2 separate regions of the Homo sapiens genome follow, and region 2 is linked to region 1. The links are contacts of gene promoters, found by promoter capture Hi-C in blood cells and fetal thymus (Javierre and others, 2016). All regions are on one chromosome and are shown on one strand. The core of a region is centred on a gene start or on the middle of the fragment in contact, and the rest is flanking DNA. Distances in the headings are between cores, read along the strand shown.

What was found. Contacts are between HindIII fragments. The CHiCAGO score rates a contact against its expected background, and 5 or more counts as called.
Region 2: a contact is called between a fragment that was not itself captured here and the fragment with the promoter of FDXR in region 1, in 1 of 17 cell types (neutrophils). The highest score is 5.3, in neutrophils.

Annotation. Positions count from the first base shown.
Region 1 is chr17:74,870,022-74,877,326 of GRCh38, forward strand. It overlaps FDXR (ferredoxin reductase), which reads right to left and starts at 2,973. Exons shown (of 12, transcript NM_024417.5): 1 at 2,845-2,973; 2 at 2,015-2,112. The coding sequence starts at 2,923. FADS6 (fatty acid desaturase 6) reads right to left here. Exons shown (of 6, transcript NM_178128.6): 6 at 7,281-7,305. RefSeq lists enhancers at 2,325-3,225, 3,023-3,317, 3,273-3,502, 4,123-5,023, 6,139-6,433, silencers at 2,713-2,842, 2,883-3,112 and a cis regulatory region at 5,388-5,459. The HindIII fragment of the contact is 12,318 bases long and covers 2,208-7,305 here.
Region 2 is chr17:75,670,493-75,677,797 of GRCh38, forward strand. SAP30BP (SAP30 binding protein) reads left to right here. Exons shown (of 11, transcript NM_013260.8): 3 at 1,324-1,371. Among named protein-coding and RNA genes, the nearest start is that of SAP30BP, 6.8 kb to the left of the region's middle. The HindIII fragment of the contact is 2,061 bases long and covers 1,508-3,568 here.

The DNA of each region.
Region 1 (7,305 bases), core at 1,723-4,222:
CTGACTCAAGCTAAGGGCCACTGTCCCAAACGTGCTGCATGTGGTCCTGTCTTAGGAGCACAGCCAGTAGCTTGGAGCTCCCTGTGGGCAAAGATCAGCCCAAGGATCAGAACAAGGATTGTACCTGGCCTGAGCCCCTCCCCATCCCATTCCACAAGGAAAGCATGTGCACGTGTCTGCCAGCTGAATACAGTCGTGCTAAGAACACTGCCTGGCCGGGCGCGGGGGCTCACGCCTGTAATCCCAGGACTTTGGGAGGCCGAGGTGGGCAGATCACTTGAGGTCAGGAGTTCAAAACCAGCCTGATCAACATGGTGAAACCCTGTCTCAACCAAAAATACAAAAATTAGCTGCATGTGGTGGAGTGCGCCTGTAATCCCAGTTACTCAGGAGGCTGAGGCAGGAGAATCGCTTGAACTTGGGAGATGGAGGTTGAAGTGAGCTGAGACTGTGCCACTGCACTCCAGCCTGGGCGACAGAGCCAGACTCCATCTCAAAAAAAAAAAAAAAAAAAAAAGAACACTGCCTGGAAAGCTTACTCTCCTCCCTTCCAAAATGTCAGGATCAGCTAAAAAAAAACTGTCCCTTATACAAAGCCCTTCAGGGCCTCTCCAGCCCCCATGTGCTCCCTGATCTCCATCCCAGAGCCCAGGCTGTCCTCCCTCCCACATGGCAGCGTGCCCAAGGCCTTGCATTCCAGGATGACTCCCCACATGTGGGAGGCCCTCACCAAAGCCCTTGGTCTGCTTCAAGGCAGCTCAAATGCACTGTCTCTCTTTTTTTTTTTTTTTTTTTTTTTGAGACAGGGTCTCACTCTGTCGCCCAGGCTGGAGTACAGTGATTTGATCTTGGCTCAGTGCTACCTCCACCTCCTGGGTTCAAGCGATCCTCCCGACTCAGCCTCCCAAGTACCTGGGACTACAGACCTGTGCCACCACACGTGGCTGATTTTTCTATTTTTAGTAGAGATGGGGTTTCACCACGTTGGCCAGGCTGGTCTCAAACTCCTGACTTCAAGTGATCCACCTGCCTTGGCCTCCCAAAGTGCTGGGATTACAGACATGAGCCACCTGGGCTTCCGGCCCAGGAAACAGTTTCTGATTGACCCCACCTGCCTCGGCTCACGCTGCCCACATTATTGTAATTAGCTCTTTCACCCGTGTTGCCTGGGAAGCATGCACGGGTCACTTTTCAGCAGAGTGATCAACTCATCCCAGTTTCCCAAGAACTTCCAGCTTAGCGCTGAAGCCCCTTGTCCTGGGCAGTCCAGGCCAGTTGGTCACCCTACATTTCAAGCATCTGTGTGTGTGTGTATAATTAAGATATTCATCCTTTCTCTTGTCTCTCCACGGACACTCCAAGCCTCTCCAAAGCTAGGCAACTGTCTCACGTCTCAGTTAACCTGGGTATCCCCTCTCTACTCTGTCCCAAAGTCTGATGTGGAGTCTCAAGTAGAACCTGTAGCCTTGGCTTGGGGCCCTTCCTGCCGAGGCAGACACTGAAAGCCTTGAGATCCTGGCCTTCACAGGGGAAGGGGGAGGGGCAGAGGGCAGGCTGAAAGAACAGAATGGCACGGAGGACTGGAGCTATGGGTGAGGAGGGCATGGCAAGGCAGGTAAAGTTACAGAAAGCGGAGGAGGTGGGTAGCCTCGAGATGTAGGATGTTTGGGATAGAGTGAAGATAGACGAGAGAGGAGGGAAGATGAAGGAGGACAAAGTCATTTTGCAGGTCTACATAAGCCCCCTGGAGTGCTTGGCCAGGGAGGCAAAGCTGACCACCTGCCACTGACCACTCACCACCAATGTGCGTTTTACACCCCTGTCACACTGAGGACGGGAGGGGAGGGGAGCCTCAGGTGTAGGTGAGGAAGCAAGTGGGAAGTGTCCAGGCCAGATGGCTGGGAGCCCCTTCCCCATAAGGCAACCAGGAGTGCTCTTAAAACCCAAAGCGGGTGAGGCTTGCCCTTAGGACTGGAGCAGCAGGTGAATGATGGACTATGAGTAAGTGGCTTACCTTTAGCAGGTGTTGGGCCGTGTAGAAGCCAGCTGGGCCACTGCCCACCACACAGATCTGGGGGGTCTTCTCCTGTGTGGAGAAATGGTGGCAGAAGCCTGGGGCCAGGCAGAGGAGAGGGAAAAGGTCAAAATTAACTTCTCTCCCCAGTCCCAAACCAACCTGAATATCCAACAGAAGCTGGAACTTCCCAAGCTTCACCCTCACCTGCATCCTCCTTCTCTTGTTCCTCAAGGCTTTGGCATTTGCAGGGTCTCTTACTTCATCTGAACCCCCAAAGGCTGTGGGTTCATCCAGAGCCCACATCTCACCCATGAACCTACTACACCACTGCCAATGGCCTGCCCAACAACACTTCATTCCCTATCCAATCGGCTAGAATCCCACATCCTTCCAACGGCCTCCATATCATCCCAATCTCGCCCCCGTGGGTCTCCCCACGGTGTCCCTCCTCTAACCCCTCTCTCTCTCCACAAAACGCTATATTGCCCATATAGACCCGTCTTATTCCTACAGATCCCTGTTTCGACTCAGACTTTCCTCTCGCCCCACAGACCTCCGTATCATCCTCCATTCACCCCGTCTCACACCTGTAGATCTCAAAGTCTCTCCTTTTCACCTTTGTTGACCTCCGTCTCTAACCCTAGAAGCCTCACATCTCACGCACAGATCTCCGCCCACCCCCGTACACCACCGGGATCTCGCCAGCAGGAAGACACCCCTTCAGTCTCACCCTTCTCCAGCCCTGCCCCAGCTCTGCTCCGACCCCTACTCAGCGCTCGCAGGCCTCCCCGCGCTCCCATCCAGCCCCAAAGGCGCCCTGCTCCTACTCGGGGTGCTCCCGGCGGGAGGCAGCCGGGTCCGAGGCCACGCCGACCAGCCCCACCAGCGCCAGCAGCGCGAAGCCATGGCTGGGAGCAGCAACCTGCAAGTGGATCTGTTCCTAGCTACTGCTCCGCAGGGCAAGCCCGCTCCTGCCCGGGCCCGCCCACAAGCGAGGCCCCGCCCCAAACCCCGCCCCCTGCGCTCCGGGAAAGCGGAGCCTTGCGGCTCCACCCCGACTCCCGAGAGAATCCCGCCCCCAAAAGAGAGACCCGCCCTTAACTACGCCCCACCGTCGAAGCCCCGCCCCTCGGAGCATCCGGGGTATACGCGATTTAATACATTTCTCCCCAGGCCTCACCTTCCCTCCAAATCCCGGAAGCCTAGGGTTGGAAGAGAGCGAATCCCCATCGCTGTTTCAGTCCCTCCCCAAGGAAACAGCCACTAAGAAAGGAGCTTATTTTACTTAGCCGCGCCCCTCTCGGGAGGCTCTCGTCGCTCACTGATGACGCAGACGCCCTTGCCATTTGATTGCGAATCCTCCCACGTGACTTCGTCCTAGCCAATCACGAGTCCGGCTCCAAGCGAGCCTTCCCGCCGTTGGGAAATAACCAGAGTGCGGAAGTCTGGGGCGAGGGAGCTCCTTCCCGGAGCCCAGCAGCCTCCTTCTTCGACCCCGGGTGTTGTGCCGATGTAACCCCTCAAATCCCCGTCTTTGCCGGGCCAGGGAGAATATTAAACCCTGGAAAGCTCGTCCCACCTCACCTCCTTTCCCATTACATAGGTGAAGAAAAGCGGGGCGGGGCAGTGGCTTACGTATGGTACTAAGGACAGAGCGTCCGACCCCCGTGCAGCCGAGCCGGGACCAGAGTTGAGGTACTCCCCTCGGGTTCAGAATTTAAGGGGGCTCCAAAACACTCAGTAATCAAGATAAATATAATACTGCAACGTTTTAAAAGGTCAAAAGTAATGCAAAAAGTCTATGATCAAAATGTTTTTAAAAATAAGGACAGGATCCGTAGTCACAGCTGACCCAATAAGCCTAACCCCTCTTCCTTTTCCCCATGGGCCCTCTTGTCAAATATTACTTCCTTGGAGAAGCCTTTTCTCTGACCCGTCCCCTCCCAAGTTCCAAGGAGTTAAAGGCCTCTCATTCCACAGCATCTGACCTTATCCCATCATGACTTACTACACTGGTTGTCGTTTTTAATGAGATTTTAAATTCAATAATAACATACAGAAAAGTGCACAAATCATGAGTGTACAACTTGACAATATATCACAAGGTGTAACCATATAACCACCACCCAGATCAAGAAATAAAACATGGCCAGTATCCCAGGAGTCCTCTGTGCCCTTACTGGTCACTTCCCCTCCCTCCCACTGGTAAGTAAATGCTGTCTGCTTTCTAATAGGTCACTGTGTTTTATGCCTGTCCCACTAGACCAGGAGTAGGCAAACTATAGCTTGCAGGCCAAATACTGTCCACCAGCATGTTTTGGATGACCAACAAGAATGGCTTTTACTGTTTTTGTTTTTTTGGAGGTTTTGGGGTTTTTGTTTTTGGTTTTGATTTTGTTTTTTGAGACAGGGTCCTGCTCTGTCACCCAGGCTGGAGTGCAGTGGTGCTCACTGCAACCTCTGCTTCCTGGCTTGGCTCAAGCGAGCCTCAGGCCTCAGCCTCCGGAGTAGCTGGGACCACAGGTGCCTGCCACCACGCCTGGTTCATTTTTGCATTTTTTGTGGAGATGGGGTTTTGCCATGTCACCCAGGCTGGTCTCGAACTCCTGAACTCAAAGCGATCCTCCCACCTCGGCCTTCCAAAGTGCCAGGATTACAGGAGTGAGCCACCACACCCAGCTTGTTTTTATATTTTTAATGGTAAAAAACAACATTTTGTGACACGTAAAAATTACATGAAATTCAGACTTCAGTTTGAATAAAACTTTATTGGAAGACATCCATGCTTACTTCTTTACATATTGTCTATGGCTATATTTGTGCTTTGATGGCACAATTGAGTAGTTGTAACAGAGATCATATGGTTCGCAAAGCCCCAGATATTTACTATCTGGTCCTTTACAGAGTTTGACCACCCCTGCACTACATTATAAGCTCCATGAGGATGGGGACCCAGTCTCAGCTCTTATACCCCCAGGGCTTCACACACTGGCTAGCACATAATGGAAGTTCGTACAATCGAAAAAGTTCTGTAGGGCTCCCCATCTAGAGGCAGTATATCTGGTGGTGGAGGATGGATTCTAGAGTCAGACAACATTGGGTCTGAATCCCTCTTCCTCCACTTACTAGCTATATGACATTGAGAAATTTAATCTCTCCAGGACTTTTTTTCACTGTCTGTAACATTTGGGGGAAATATGAATAGTGGCAATTTGTTGTAGACATTAAAATCAGATGATGAGGTCAAGACAACTTCCATAAATGCTAGATAAACATTAGCTATTATTATCATCATCCATATGTATTATGACCTCCCATATGTCTCTGTAGATTAGACCTTAAGTCTCTGCAGAGATCTGGATATACTTCATTCACTCCTGTCACCTCCCTCACCTCTCAGGCCTCAGAAATTCCCAGCCCACATCCTAAGTGAAACAGAAAATGGAGCCTCAAAGCAATCGAGTGACTTGTTCCCATGATACCCATGGTACAGCCAGATCTGGCACCAGTGCCTTCAGCTGCTGCCCATACCCCAGTCAGGTCCAGATCAATAACAATGAGTCATTGGTTATGTATTTGGATGGTTTTAATCATGAGCCAGGACTGTGCAACTGGGGCCTTTTCTGCCACTGCGTTTCTCAAATGGAGAATTAGCAGTTTGATTAATTACACCCCTAGATCTCAAGGCCATTTCTAAGCTGCTAATGCATTTCCAAGGAGCAGCAATAACATATAGCAAAGCAGTGGGCTGGGGAGCCGCCAAGCCTGCCTCGTGCCAAGAGGGCTGCCTGGATCCAAAACTCCACTCTATCAGTCAACCTTCTAGCAAGAAACAGATGGCACACTCAAAAGGCGTGATTGAGGACAGTTTAATGAAGGAGTTTGTATACAGAGGTGTGAGCAGGGTGAAGGGAATGGAGAAGCACCCCAGGCTAGCAACAGCTGGAAACCACTACCACCGCAAGCCTGGAGGGAGCTGTTTCAGAACTAGTGAGAGTCTGTAGCTATGGAAAAGGGTGTCTAAAGGAACTGCGGTCTTTGGTAAAGGAAGGTGTGGTGGAGATGAATGGAGAGTGCACATAAAAGAACCAGTGGCCTCTGTGCAGCTGCCTAAGGCCACACCACAGAGGGGCTCTCCAACGGAACAAGGCTCAGGGAATGCCTGTGCCTGTAGCCAGACCCCTCTGCCCATCCCCCAGGCTCCCATTTGCCGGCAGTTTGTCTCCCTATCAGCAGGGTCAGGAGGCCTTTCACTCTATCCAAGGCCTTCACTGAAAAACAAGGCAATTACACGCTCAGAGAATGACTTGCATGTTCTCAACTGGGTCAACTCAGCAATGTCTGGAGACATTTTTGATTGTCACAACTTGAGCTCCCAGCATCTAGTAGGTAGAAGCCAGTGACGCTGCTAAACATCCAACAATGCACAGGACAGCCCCCAACAACACAGAATTGGCCAGATAAAATGTCAGTAGTGACTGGGCATGGTGGCTCACACCTGTAATCCTAGCACTTTGGGAGGCCAAGGTGGGTGGATTGCCTGGGCTCAGGAGTTCGAGACCAGCTTGGGCAACATGGTGAAACTCCGTCTCTACTAAAATACAAAAAATTAGCCAGGCATGGTGGCAGGCTCCTGTAGTCCCAGCTACTCGGGAGGCTGAAGCAGGAGAATCGCTTGAACCTGGGAGGCAGAAGTTGCAGTGAGCTGAGATCATGCCACTGCACTCCAGCCTGGGCGACAGAGCGAGACTCCATCTCCATAAAAAAAAAAGTCAATAGTGCCAAGGTGAGAGACCCTGTTTTCAACTAATGGGTCTGGCCTCCTTCTCTGTCTCTCCCTCAGCCTCCACCTGGGCACTTCCTAGCACCCTCCCAGTCCAGCCCCCAGCTGGGGCAGCTCCCAGCCCTCTCTCAATACTACCCACTGTGGGCTGAATCTCAGTGGTGTCCCCCAGCACCTTGGTCTCTTCCTCTGCCTGGCATTGGTAGTTCCCTTATATTCCCACCTCACTCCCAGGCTGCAGACCATCCTTCCACAGCCCTGCCCAGCCCTGACTTCAGGCTCTTCTATCTGCACCCCACCCTCCTCCCATTCCTCTCTGAGGTCATCCGTCCTCCGGACCCTGTTCCCAGTACCCCCTCCAGCCCCAGCCCCCTCCTACAAATTCTTCTCTCTCCCAGTAGATGATCCCCAGGTTCACTTCTAAACATCACAGAACAAACTGTTTGAACTAGCCAAGGTCACATTCAAAGTTATTTATTCTTTTTTTTTTTTTTGAACGGGAGTC
Region 2 (7,305 bases), core at 1,288-3,787, 800 kb after region 1:
ACATTCTGGCTTAATATTCATAACTCTTTTCTTTAGTACGTTTGCATAATGTGTTTTTGAAGTGTTATTTCATATTTGCTTTGCTTAGAATTTTCATCATGTTTAAGCTTCATTTCATATTTTAGTAAAATCCTCTCATCAGATCTTGTTGTAGAGATTCTGAAATGTGATTGTATTTGTCTGAGCTCCATCTCTGTTTATTTGGCATGACTGATTTCATTTTAAGGAGATTATGGAGATTGCATTTAAAGCCTTGGACTCACTGGTACCTTACAGGACAGTTAAGTCTCCAAATCATGAGTCTAGTTTGTTCAAGTCTCTCGAGTGGTATTTATATTAATATATGGAGTGCTGTGTAATGTTTGGGCTGAAATGTAGCTTTGTTGAAAATAGTAGTTTCAAATGAAACCATTTTTTCCTGGGTATTTAGTTAAAGGCTTCTGTGCATTGGGAGTGTTCTGGGTAGTGGAGGTGACATGGATTTAGCCAGCTAATAAGGTAGCTGGTCCAGCATCTGCTCCTGATCTTTGACCTTCATAGCATCAGCGTTAGCGTTCAGTGGAATGGCGGGCTCGCTTTGGAGAATGCCTTACCGTGTGTGATCCTTTGTGTCAGGCTGACCTCATCTGGATAAGGAACAGGACTGGGTAGAATGGATCACTGGCAGTTCTGTGAGCACTTAGGTGGAGGCAGAGCCCACTCAACTGGGACTCCTGAAAGGTTGGGCATTGCCCTTTAGTCCTGCCTTTCCCAGGTCACTTGCTCAGGTAGTTTGATGCCTGCCTTCCTGTGTTGATGTTTGTGCAAATGCCGGTTGAGGTGCTGCGATACAGCTGTGTGTAAGCCTTGGCACTTGGTGTTGGACACTGTTAGAGTAGGTCCGAGTCTGATGTACATGTGTATATGAAAAGGAAAGAAGGCTCATAATCCTGATTTGAAATAACTGATACTTCAGTGGAAACACGATGCCTGTTTTATTGTGTGGCCTGATCTTACTCTTTCCTAAAACATATTGCAAGCTTTCTCCATTTTTATGTATGTGACTTTGAACTCGGGCATCTTCATTGATGTGGACTGTCTCACCACTAAAGTAACTTGACTTTGAGCTGCTGATGCTTTTTTGTTTTTTGTTTTTTTCCCCTCCAGAATATCTCTTTTTCCCCTTATTTTTCTCTGGTTCTGAGTTATATGGTAGGGGAGGGATTCTTGGTGGGATGACCCCAGCTGGGTAAATGGGCTGTTTGCTCCGGCCCCTAGTTATGCATGTGAGACTCCTCAGGCCCGCTCCTTTAAGCTTAATCCTCTAAATTCTTTGTCTTGTAGGAAGATGACGATTCAGAGACTGAAAAACCTGAGGCTGATGACCCAAAGGTATTTGGTGTTGGCTGTGGTGGGTGGCTGGATGCAAACAAGGTGTTTGAACACTGTGGCTCAGTTCGTATGTTTGGTCAAGATCTGTCCCACTGACAAACTGTGCAACTGTGTGGACATTTTCTGGGATAAAATAAGCTTTATAAAGAAAGAACCTGGAGACAACTCAGGAATGAACAAATCCTGAGACACATTGGATTTCCAGCCTTTCAGATTGTGCCATATCTCCTGACTAGAAAGGCGAGAGGCCTGGCTGAGGCCAACAACCCACTTGCATTCTGCATCCCAGATGGGGCTTTAAGTGTCACTGCCCTGCAGGTGGATTAGTCTGTTTCTAGACCCAGGAAGGTGTAAGGGCCGCCTCGCGTGCTTTGGGTTCTCTTTAGTCATCTAGAAGTGAACAAGAGGCTATAAGAAGGTCAGACCAAAATGAGGCCTCTCCCCAGCTCTCAGGGATGGTGGGTCTAATGCTCATTTTCCTGGGGGTGTGTCCATCCACTTTTGGGCAAGCTGTACAGAATGGTCTTTTTCGGAACAACATAACTATTCTCATAGTGTCATCCTAGTAGCAGCCAAGAGTAATTTGTAGCAATTCCTATCACATTCCATAATGATCTGTTGTGAAGGTTAAGACACCCTTGTGTTGGTTAAGCTGCTGTGCTGTGCATTGGCCATTAGAAATGTGTACTTGCTGAAGAGTCATTTTTTATGAGGAAAAACTTCCCCCCTGTACCCCCAAAGAAAAAGACTTAATTATATCACTCTAGACCCGGGGAATAAGGACCCATTTTGCAGTTAAAAACTGCTTTGAGGCCAGCCGCAGTAGCTCACGCCTGTAATCCCAGCACTTTGGGAGGCTGAGGCGGGAGGATCACTTGAGGTCAGGAGTTCAAGACCAGCCTGGCCAGTATGGTGAAACCCCGTCTCTACTAAAAATACAAAAATTAACTGGTGAGACTGGTGGGTGGTGCACACCTGTGATCCCAGCTACTGGGGAAGCTGAGGCAGGGGAATTACTTGAACCTGGGAGGCAGAGGTTGCAGTGAGCCATGATCTGCCAATGCACTCCAACCTGGGCAACAGAATGAGAATCTGTCTCAAAAAAAAAAACAAAAAAAAACTGCTTGGAAACCAGCTGTAACTTTCAAGATGACCTAGTAAAATTTAGGAAATTTATGCCCAATTAAAATCTAAAACAGTAATATTCTTGAAAATATAGTGTGAGCTGTTCCATATTTGAGCTGATTCTGTGATTGGATAGAACTGTATGTAGCCACTAAAATCTTGAGACGTTGTGAGTGAGAAAGATAAGAGTGTGTTTTACCAGGAAAGAAAGTTTTGGCGCCAGCATGCAGGAGGGAAAAAAAAGAACCCCTGAAAACTGTAAATGCAACCTGCTTTCTATGCTGAGTGAAAAACCTGGAACCCAGGCCTGAGAACTCGCCCTGCCTGAGAACTGGCAAGATGGTATGGGCAGACCCATGGCCCCATAGTTCAAAGTCAGTCACAGCTCTCCTCGGGCTTGCAGAACAAAACACTCAGTAGTGATAATCTTCTCTGCCTAGTATTTAGGGTATGTGGGACTTGGAGCCTGCACGTAAAACAAGCCCAGGGAGCCGTTAAGTGTTTGGGTTTCAGTTGTGGAGGGAAGGGAGGATCTGGGTCCTAGAGTCTTTCTGGGTACAGTTGCAGCCTTTTCTTAGGGCTGGAAGGCTTCCTGGGGAAGTTGGCTGGAGAGGAGGGTACATAACACTTAACGGTCACCCCTTCTAAAATACTGTAATCCAGGCAACAAATCCTTGGGAGATGACAGGGCTTTGTGAGTCAGGGTGGGGGTCACATGAAAAACAAAACAGACTTTACTGCTGTCCAGTAGCAGTCACTAAAGAGCGGGGTGGGAGGGACCCAAAAAAGGTGAAGCTGGGAAGATTGTGGAAATGCCTTTTGTGCTCAGGCTCCCCTTCTCAGCCCTACATCACGGCTGACAGCCTCGTCATTCCTGCCTGCTCCTTGACTGATGTGCTTCGCTGTTCCTCATTCACTCATGTGCATTTCAAGTTTTACTGTGGAATGAAAAGTTTTCATGGAATAATTTCTGTTCCTCTTGAGGAGCCCTCAGAAATCAGAACACAAAATCCAACCCTCAAAGTCACTTGATATAGTTCTTTTGGAGGGTGATGGAGAAGGGTTTAGATAAAGCTTGCCAGCTTCAATGTTCTGCAATCCCCAGTGGCTGCCAGGCCTTTAGGAGTCCTCGTGGCATCTCCAAGGACTACAAATGATCCCCAGCATGAGTCTTCTGTGATACTCTTATCTTAGTCCTGGCCCTGTCATCCTTCTGCTTGAGCTGGCCTCAGACTCTCTTCCACATAGCAACATGTACCTCAAATCCAGAACTTTCTGGCACATTTACATTTTATTTTTATTTATTTATTTTATTTATTTTTTTGAGACAGAGTCTTGCTCTGTCGCTCAGGCTGGAGTGCAGTGCTGTGATCTCGGCTCAGTGCAACCTCCGCCTCCTGGGTTCAAGCGATTCTCCTGTCTCAGTTTCCCGAGTAGCTGGGATTACAGGTGTGAGCCACCATGCCCAGCTAATTTTTTGTATTTTTAATAGAGACAGGGTTTCACCATGTTGGCCAGGCTGGTCTTGAACTCATGGCCTCAAGTGATAGGCCCGCCTCTGCCTCCCAAAGTGCTGGGATTACAGGCATAAGCCACTGTGCCCAGCCCACATTTTTTTAAATTGATGTGTAACAATATTTTTTATATTCAAAACCCTTAATTTTGGACATTCTGCTTTAAGCATATGAAGTTTTTTTGTTTGTTTTTTGTTTTTTTTTTTTTTTTTTTTTTTTTTTTGAGGTGGAGTCTCCTCTGTCGCCTGGAGTGCAGTGGTGCCATCATAACTTACTGCAGCCACAACCTCCCTGGCTCAATTAATCCTCCCACCTCAGCCTCCCAAACAGCTGGGACTACAGGTGTGTGCATCACACCTAGCAATTTTTTTTAATTTTTTTGTAGAGGAAAGGTTTTGCCATATTGCCCCGGCTGGTCTTGAACTCCTGGGCTCAAGTAATCTGCCCACATTGGCTTCCCAAAGGGCTGGGATTAGAGCTGTGAGCCACCAGGCCCAGTGCACATGAACATAGGAAGTTTCTAACAATAGAATATGTTACAAGTGTGGATCTTTGTTAGAAGTGTTGTTTAACAATTAGATTACTGTCATAATTGTCATCTCCACTAGGTGGCATTCTCCTTTCTACTTTGGTTTTTTGTTGTTTTTTTGTTTTGTTTTGTTTTTGAGTAGGAGTTTCGCTCTTGTTGCCCAAGCTGGAGTGCAATGGCGCAATCTCAGCTCACTGCAACCTCTGCCTCCCGCATTCAAGCCATTCTCCTGCCTCAGCCTCCCGAGTAGCTGGGATTACAGGCACATGCCATGTCGCCCAGCTAATTTTTGTATTTTTAGTAGAGACGGGGTTTCACCATGTTGGCCAGGATGGTCTTGATCTCCTGACCTCGTTATCTGCCCACCTCAGCCTCCCAAAGTGCTGGGATTACAGGTGTGAGCCACCTCGCCCGGCCTCTACTATGGTTTTTTAAGATCTTTTAATTTTTTTCAGTAGTTCTCAAAACATTTAGGTTTCTTTACACAATTAAAAATTGAGGATCTCAGAGTTTTCATTTTGGTTTTATCTATTGATGTTTACTATTTTATAAGTTAAAACTGAGAAAATTTTAAATTACTTATTTTAAAATAACAAACCTGATCCGGCCACAGTGACTTGTGCCTGTAATCCCAGCACTTTGGGAGGCCGAGGTGGGCAGATTGGTTGAGCCCAGGAGTTTGAGACCAACCTGGACAACGTGATAAAACCCCATTTCTATAAAAAAAATACAAAAATTAGCCGGGTGTGGCGGCGCATGCCTCTAGTCCCAGCTACTCGAGAGGCTGAGGTGGGAGAATCACTTGAGCCTGGGAGGTAGAGGTTGCAGTGAGCTGTGATCTTGTCACTGCACTCCAGCCTGGGTGACAGACTGAAACCTTGTCTCAAACAAACAAACCTATTACATATTAACATAAATAACATTTTTAGAAAAAATAAGTATTTCCAAAAAAATGTTAATGCAAAGAGTGGCACTGTGTCACCACTTTACAAATCTCTTTAATGTCTGGCTTAATAGAATATGGCTGGGTACATATAACTGCTTTTGCATTCAGGTAATTATAGGTATTCTTCTTTGATACTTCATCAAAACTCAACAGGTGATAGTTTCCTTGAAAGGTTAGTTACATCATGGAATGCAAAGCCTTACCAGTGAACTCTGCATTCTGCTTCCCTAAAATCCACTGGTCTGTCTTGCCCTTTGAATGGATCTTTTACCCATACATGATTTGATATCGTCAGGCTCTGGTGATTTGAAAATTGCTGATGTACTGAGTTACACAGATCTAAATGTTGACACATTTTGTTCTGTCGTATCAAAAAAGTAGTATTTATTAGTGACATCACTAATCTCATCAGAAAATCATTAAATGTTAGAAACCTTTTAGCAAGCCCACAATAAGGAGCAATACATTTTTTAAGATAATGTGTTTCTAATAATTTTTGTTTGAAAGCATGAATTTATCATTTTCAATATGTGCTATCAGAGCTTTCCTTGAAGTAACAGGCTTTGGTCTTGAGAAAATGTCTGCCAAATACCCAAGTCCAGATAACTAGTTTGTCATTATTTCAAATAAAAATGGTGTTTCCTGAAGAAAACTGTCAGTTCAACTGGTGACTCAAATAATCACAAACGGTAGTCCATCCTTTTCCGTGGCTTCAGTAACCTGAGGTCAGCTGCAGTCTGAATATATTACATGCAGTAAGCTATTTTGAGAGAGAGTTCACATTCGCATAGCTTTTATTACAGTATATAATTCTAATTGTTGTTAATCTCTTACTAGTTTATAAATTAAACTTTATCATAGGTATGTATGTATAGGAAAAAGACATAGTATGTATAGGTCTCAGTACTATCAGAGGTTCAAGGCATCTACTGGGAATCTTGGAACGTATACCCCACGGATAAGGGGGCATTGCTATGTGTGCTTTTCCCTGAGACATTTGTCTGACTTTGTTATGCAGCAGAAGTATTTATGCATGCCTCTCATGTCATTGCCCAAAATATTAAAGAGATGTATATTCAAATGTCAAGATGTCATAAAACTAATCATTTTTACTGTCCTGGCAGAAAACTTTTTTTTTTTTTTTTTTTTTGAGACACTCACTCTGTTGCCCAAGCTGGAGTGCAGTGGCACAATCTCGGCTCACTGCAACCTCTGCCTTCCAGGTTCAAGTAATTCTCCTGCCTCAGCTTCCTGAGTAGCTGGGATACAGGCACGCGCCACCATGGCCGGCTAATTTTTGTGTTTTTAGTAGAGACAGGGTTTCACCATATTGGCCAGGCTGGTCTCGAACTCCTGACCTTGTGATCTGCCCGCCTCAGCCTCCCAAAGTGCTGGGATTACAGATGTGAGCCACCACGCCCGGCCTATGGCTGACCATTCTTAAGTGAAACTGGCTTTTTTTTTTTTTTTTTGGAAACGAAGTCTCGCTCTGTCACCCAGGCTGGAGTGCAGTGGCGCAATCTCAGCTCACTGCAGCCTTCACCTCCCAGTTCAAGCGATTCTCCTGCCTCAGCCTCCCGAGTAGCTGGGATTACAGATGTGAACCACCGTGCCTGACTAATTTTTGTATTTTTTTTTTTTTTTTTTTGGTAGAGTTGGGGTTTCACCATGTTGGTGAGGCAGGTCTCAAATTCCTGACCTCAAGTGATCCACCCACCTCAGCCTTCCATAGTGCTGGGATTACAGGCATGGGAATCCCATGGGATTACACCCAGCCCTTTTTTTTTTTTTTTTTTTTTAAATCAAACGGCTACAGTTTG